Linked DNA regions of Homo sapiens: region 1 is linked to region 2. Evidence: promoter capture Hi-C in 16 types of primary human blood cells and fetal thymus (Javierre and others, 2016). All regions are on one chromosome and are shown on one strand. The core of a region is centred on a gene start or on the middle of the fragment in contact, and the rest is flanking DNA. Distances in the headings are between cores, read along the strand shown. Region 1 holds the start of PAFAH2 (platelet activating factor acetylhydrolase 2). Region 2 holds the start of MAN1C1 (mannosidase alpha class 1C member 1).

Region 1 (3,712 bases), core at 867-3,366, 380 kb before region 2:
ATCCCGCCACTGGGCCACAGAGCGAGACTCTGTCCCCCCCGCCCCCCTAAAAAAAAGGAAATCCAAAGCTGGTCACCCAAATACCAACTTGAAGCAATTTAGCAACAAAGTAAAGGCCAGAGTTGGGATGGTAGCTGATAGATTTGAAGGGAACTTTGGGCTACTGGAGGATGAGATCTATGATGAAAATGCTGGAAAATCAACCATTTGCTTAAAAAGGTAAAGGCATTTGGGTTGTTTATCCTAGAAAAGACCGGATTGGAAGGAAGTATAGTTAAACTCAACTGTTTTATTTTGCAACAGGGAAGAATCTGATTGTGCCCAAGGAAGAGCTTCCTAACTGTGACAAAGGAGGTAAAGGAGGTGGTGACATGCCCATCCCTGGGAAATTTTAAACTCAGCTGGCCAGCAAATGGCTCCAGCATGGCCTGGTCTGGGAGTAGGAGACTGAAAGAAATGACCTCCAGCTGTCCCTCTCATGACCAAGGACCTCTGGCTTGTCGTGAGTGTTCTGGCCAGCTGCACAGCACGGATTAATGGGCCAAAGGGAGCCGCTCTCTGATCTGCGCTAAGCTTTTCAGGTTCTGTGGCCACCGCCATCAGCCACAGATTTAATGAGATCCGAGGCTTAATTACCACAGTGCAGGGCTGCCAGCACTCTCTCCTGATGACTTTATCTTGGCTCCTGGAAGGATGGGGGTGACAACAGTGTGTCGGCAGGAGAGGAGAGCCTAAAGCAGGGACTCTGGACCCTGGTGTTTCGGGGGGATGTGGGCTGCAAGAGTAGGGTGGAGGGGGCGACTGCAGGACTCAGTACCTGACCTCAAAGAGCTCACAATGTGTCAAGAGTTAAGACCTCTAATACAGGAGATACCCAAGGCAGTGTGAGTCGACTCACATGTGCGAGGCACACACAGATGTCGGCGGAAACTTTGGAGGCATGAACAAAGCTCCCAGAGGAGGGGCGCTGAAGGGTGGGGGGTGGGGCGTGGGGGAGTGCAGGTTGGAGAAGACCTTGAATGTCAGGCTAAGCAGTTGGGACTTCACTTCATAGGTAGTAGAGGGCCGTTGAACGTTTTTGAGCTGCCTGAACGATCCAAATTTCCTATAGAAGTTTACAGAACTCCTGAGGATGGGCTCTGCCTAACGCCCACTCCCCCGAGAATACTCTCCTTCCATCCCTCACACTTAGCTGCAGCCAGCACTGAACTTAATGCCATACTCTGAAACGTCCTTCACAGTCTCTGTACTCCTGGCTACGTTCTTTCCTTATATCGGGTCTCAATGTTAACAAACATCACTCCCTCTAAAAAGCCTTGCGGACACCGCCCTTTTCCCCCAAGCCTGGCCAGAGGCCCCTTTTCAAGGCTCCCACGCTTGCTGTGTCTCCCCATGAGATCACGGCTCTGTGCTGTCATTATTCATTTGTCTGAATTCTCTGCTAGACTGTGATTCTGTTGAGGCTAGGAGCGGTATCTTGTCCATCAGTGTCGCTAAGAACCAGCATTAGACAGTAATGTGGGATGGATGCGGCCCAGCAGATTACTCGGGTTCCTCCCCTTTCTCTGCCAGGGAGTCTTTTGAGGACAATGGAAAATCACAGGTGTCAACAGATGCAGGCTGGTAGGGAATGTCCCCTTAATTTGAATGATCAGTCTATTATTCTTACAGGAAGCAAAGTGTGCAGAAGACACAAAACAAACTCCAACCTCCTCCCACCTCCTTGAGAATAAAGCGAAGCGGGGACCATTTCTAGGCACGCCTGAGGACTATTTGAGGAGGGTGAGGCGGAGGGTTACGCACGGGACTAAGGCAAAACCCTCCGCTCGAGAGCAGAAATCGCGGCGGCACCTCTTCAGGCCACCAGGGGGAGGAATCACACCGCATCCCAGGCCTTGGGCGGTTTCGCACGACCACGCGGGGCTGGACGGTCGCGTAGAACTCTGGGAGGTGTAGTTTTAGAGTTGTAATGCGCAATCTCGCGCACTGTACATCGGGAATTGTAGTTCTAGATTGAGGAACGAGAAGTGCTTCCAAGCGTCCATTTTGAGCCTTGGAAACTACGACGACCAAAGGGCCACGGGTTCATGGGTCGTTTCTCATTTCCGTCGAGTTAAACGTCTGGGGCTGCTTCTGAGGAATCAGCTTGACTGGGTAAGTTTGATTGGAGAAAACACCTATATCTCAATTGAGCTTCCTGCAGACTTTTGTATTCTGGCCCGGTTTGGGGCCTCGGCGTCTCTCAGTCATAGGAATTGCACATTAATCTTCGTCCTTTACGTTTCCTATTCAGACACCTGTAGCCACCCGCTCCCTTGACCCTCCCACGGTCGCCTCGCACTTTTAACGGCCAGTGCCCCTGGAATCCCCACTGAGCTCCCGTCCCAGGACCCAGCCCCCGCAGCCCCACCTTGGACCCCACAGCCCTACCCTGATTCCTCGGCCCTACCTTCACCCTGCAGCCTCACATCCCTGAACCCCGGGCTTCTTTATGCTCCTCCACCCTTTGTGTACTTTACTCTTACTCTCAGTTTTCTGTTTTTCATGGCGGTGGAAGAAGGGTCCCCATTCCTTCTTTCCGATCCGCGATTACCCTGGACTCGAAGTCAGCAGACCCGGTTCTAGGCCAGCTCTGCCTCTCACCCTCTGTGACCTTGGGCAAATCATACAACTCTGGGACTCAGTTTCTTCCTCTCTAAAACGGAGATGACTGTTGCTCCATCAGTCTCAGGTGAGGAGTGTTGAGGAGCCAACAAGCTAGTATGTGTGAAGATGCCTTGTAAACTGTAAGACCTTCACAAGAGACAGAGATTATTTTTATCACAATTATTAATGCTCTGGAACACTCTTATCAGGCCTCTTCTCTAGCTCTGCCACCTTGTTGCTCAATCTCATCCCTCGAGTGCTTGGTGTCTTCATTGTCTACGAGCTGGATGATATTTCCTCACTTCCTCCAGAGACCAAAGGTCAGGCCAATGAGCTTTTAGTCTTCAGAGAGCTTTGTCTGAAAGGAAGCACAAGAGAAGTGCTTATCTTGGACTGTATCTTGAAATAGCCAGTGATGAAAGTGTCACACAGCTGGCAGAGCAGCAGTCCTCTGCTCACCAGAAACAGGGTCCCAGCAGGAGAGGACAGCTGCAACCTAAGCCCCATCCATTCCCTCTGGGCTCCTCTGGGCCTGTTCAGTAGACACTGGCTTTGGTAGGGGTGTCTGAGGCCTGAAAAGGCTGCTGGGAAAGAATCTGTTTTGCCAAAGGGCTTAATCCAGGAAAAATGAGAGACCTTGGCTAGGAAAGAGAGACATAGCATTGTTAATTAGTTCCTAACATTTTATAAGCACTGAAAATGCACCAGGCCCTAGGCAATATTTTCACTTACGAAGTATCCATTTTACGTATAAGGAACTTGAGAGGCATGTAGTTAAAATAATTATAGTTGCCTCCTATGGTTATAGTACCTTCTATCCATCGAGTGCTTTACATGCATTATTTAATCCTCATCAACAATCTCGTGAGTAGTTACTATTTCTTTTTTTTTGAGATGGAGTCTCGCTCTGTCGCCCAGGCTAGAGTGCAGTAGCGCGATCTCGGCTCACTGCAAGCTCCGCCTCCCGGGTTCACGCCATTCTCCTGCTTCAGCCTCCCAAGTAGCTGGGACTACAGGCGCCCGCCACCAGGCCCAGCTAATATTTTGTATTTTTTTTAGTACAGAC
Region 2 (3,272 bases), core at 186-2,685:
AAGCGGAAAGGGACGCCCTCGTCCCCGGGCCTGGAGGCCGGGATGCTATTGCCCCGGGCCGCCGTGGCCTCCTCGCGGGGTCCAGTGGGGCGGGTGCGCCGCAGCCCCCCTTTCCTGCGGCGGGGACTGGCCCAGCTGCTGGGGTCATCCTCGCCCGGGGCCGGCGCGGCGGGGGCCGGGTTGGGAGGCGGCTCCTGCTCGCGGGCCGGGGCATGGCCGGCGATTTCAGCCACCACTTCCAGACCAGGCTGCTGGGTCCGGGGGGCCAGGAAGAGGCGCTTGAGGCGAGAGGAGTGGGGCAGCAGGAAGAGGGCCCCGAAGCACAGGGTGACCAGGCCCGAGAGGAAGAGGAGGAAGAGGAACTTCTGCGGCAGCCGCAGCCCCCACGGGGAGGCCGGGACGAAGCCGGGCACTTTCCTCATGAGCATCGTGGCCCGGCCGGTGGCTCCAGAAGCCCTCGGAGTCCAGGCACGTGTCTGCGGGGGCGCGGTGAGGGGAGGGCGTCCGGAGCGCCGCCCGGGATGGGGGTCCCTGGGCAGGGTTGCCAACCCTGAGAGTTTCGCCGCTTCGGGGGACTGTCCCCGAAGTTCAGGGAGTTTGGAGCGAGTCCTCCCGCGAGGAGGCGGGGGCGCAGCGGCCTCGGCGGGGCCCGGGCGAGCGGAGCGGCACGGCTTGGGGCCCGGGCCCGCAGCGACCGGCCGCGCGCCGCAGCCTCCCCTCCGGCCGAGCCCTCCCCGCCGCGCCGGGGCCCGCGCCTTCCCGCGCTGCGGCCGCCGGGACCGTCACATGCCGTCCGCGGCGTCCCGGCTGTCCGCGCCGAGGGGCGCCCGCAGGCCCGCACCAAGCCGCCCTCCGCCCCCTAGGCTCCCGCCCGCGCTGGTAGGCGCCCAAAGTTTCAGCTTCAGAAGCAGTTTCCGGAGGGGACCGAGGCGATGGGGGGCTGGCGTGTCAGCGCCGCCCCGAGCGCGCGCACACCCGGCCCGGTCGCGACAGCGCCCGGGCTCGACTATCGGGACACGTCCACAACTTTCTCCGCCGCGGAGAGGGCGCCGGGAGCTGGGAGCCGGAGTGGCCAGGGAGCAGGAGCAGGCACTTCCGAGCCTGCGGGGGCAGGGGGCTTCCCCCGGGCCCCAGACAGCGCAGGGATGCCTGGGTCCGGAGCCGCGGCTGGGCGGCTGCAGATGCGCCCGGGAGCGCGGGCTCCCGCCCCTCGAACTCGGCAGGGCGCGGGGCTCCCACTGGGATCACCTGTTCCCGGCCCCGCCGGCTCCGCGGAGCGCGCAGCCCTGGCCGCGCCTCCCCCGCTGCAGCTGTCTTCCTCGCAGCGGCCGCTCCAGACCGGCCGCTGCCGCCGAGCCTGCGCCCCACACGCGCGCACAGCCACCCGGCCGCCTCCACCGCCGTCCCCGCCGCCGCCGCCGCTCGGGCTTTCACTGCGACAGCGCCCGCCGCCCCGCCTCCTGCCGCCCGCCGGCCACGCCCGCCGGCCACGCCCACGCGCGCGCCCCGCGCCCCCTCCCGCCGCCGCCGCGCCGCAGCCGGCTGAGGGCCGCGCGTCCGGGGGCGGGGCAGAGGCCGAGCGCGGGCGGGAGCGCAGCCCGCTCCAAGCCCCGCCCTCCCCGAAGGGCAGGCGTCGCGCGCACCCCCCATCCAGCGGGCGCCAATGGTCCAGCGGCGCGGGGCAGGCGAGGGCGGGGGCGGAGAGCGCAACGAGGGCATTGGCTGCATCCGAGGGATCCCCGTTGGGCCACAGTCGTCCATTGGTTACTGCCCAGCCTTCGCTGGACCCCAAGCGACAGAGACCACCCCCCAGCCCGCCCGCGAGGCTCGGGTTGGTGGCCCCCGGAAGCGGGCCGGAGACGGTGTTGCTCTGGAGGGGTGTGCCCGTCGCTGGGTGACCTCTCTCGCCCCCGAGTGCCAGCCCGGGGTTGTCAGGGAGCTGGCAGCCCGCGCCCTGGCGGCTGCCCCGGGCTTCTCAGCGCTAACGCCGGGCTGCAGGGGTGCTGCTGGTGGCTGGAGCCAAGCCAGAGAGCTGTGACCGCGGCCGGGTCGGCGGAGGTGATGTTTCCACTGGCCCCCTCGCAGACCACTGGCGTGCCTTCCTTTTCCCACAACCCTAAACGGGGCCAGGGCTCCTGGGTGGAGCACGGAGGGAGGCTGACCGCAGCCTTGAGAAGCAGCGAAAGGAAGAGAGCCCCGGGCGTGTCTACAGAAGACCACACACATAATGTGACGGACGTCTACCTTGATGCCTACGTGTGTTTATATGCACATGTGTGCGTCTGGGCATAGATCTATATGCACACAGAGACTGGCATGTGGGTGTGTACATGCACTCAAACATACACTTAATTTGGGTATGGACACCCAAGTGATTATACCACAGTATGCATAGACATATATGTAAATTAGTACAAACATGGACATGTGCACCCGCATACCCACAGACACTCAGGCAACAGATAACCTCCAAAAACAGCCAGGCATCAACTCCCAGACACGCGTGTCCTCAACCCCAAGGCCCTCACATCTTCCTCCTTGGACTTAGTCTCTGCATCTTCCCTTCCTGTTAAACCTAACCCAGGGTGAAGCAACATTGTGCTGTGTGGGTCTTTCATGCAAAACACTTTATAGAGACAAATAACAGCAGAGGGAGAGACAAATTAAGAGGTTTGTAATAGGCAAGAGGGAAAATATCTACTTTCAGCTGCAATTTAAAATGAAATGCAGTGTTGACGAGACAGAAAATACTGCAGGGAAGCCTTTCCCGACAGAAGAAGCGGGCCAGGCAGGCTCTCGCCTCGTAAATCTTGCTTCTTCCCTGAGGCCTGCTGGGGATGGGCGGCTGGGACTCAGTCATCCTTCTACCTCTGGCCAGACCACTGACAGCAGACCCACCCTCGATGTTTAAATATCCCTGGCATGCAACTTTCTCTCAACTGAAAATGAAAGTGGGTAACAGGTGCAAACATTTTGGTCACTGGAGATGACTAATCCTTCCCAATCCCACAAATATATGCAGCTTAAATATAAAATTCTAATTCAGATATTTCAATCTCTTGTGAGTTTCGTTGGCAGGTTGATGTGGAGCCAGCTGTGCAAATCAGAGATAAGCATGTGACCCATTTGGGTGCAGGAGCCCAGAGACCTGGCCTGGCCTCACCCATGTCTCCAACACCCAAGCATCGCCTCACTGGGTCCCACTGCAGGAAAGGGCAACCTTGTCTTTGGAGAACCAGGCAGGGACCCAGCATTCATTAGAGTCATCATCT

Evidence for each region. Contacts are between HindIII fragments. The CHiCAGO score rates a contact against its expected background, and 5 or more counts as called.
Region 1: the fragment with the promoter of PAFAH2 here is called in contact with the fragment with the promoter of MAN1C1 in region 2 in 6 of 17 cell types (megakaryocytes, naive B cells, endothelial precursors and 3 more); the score reaches 6.8 in megakaryocytes.

The regions. Positions count from the first base shown.
Region 1 is chr1:25,996,467-26,000,178 of GRCh38, reverse strand. PAFAH2 (platelet activating factor acetylhydrolase 2) reads left to right here and starts at 2,116. Exons shown (of 11, transcript NM_000437.4): 1 at 2,116-2,154. RefSeq lists enhancers at 1,971-2,020, 2,031-2,120, 2,291-2,370. The HindIII fragment of the contact is 3,571 bases long and covers 576-3,712 here.
Region 2 is chr1:25,614,954-25,618,225 of GRCh38, reverse strand. It overlaps MAN1C1 (mannosidase alpha class 1C member 1), which reads right to left and starts at 1,435. Exons shown (of 12, transcript NM_020379.4): 1 at 1-1,435. The coding sequence starts at 428. RefSeq lists silencers at 1,210-1,499, 1,520-1,809 and an enhancer at 2,000-2,169. The HindIII fragment of the contact is 10,837 bases long and covers 1-3,272 here.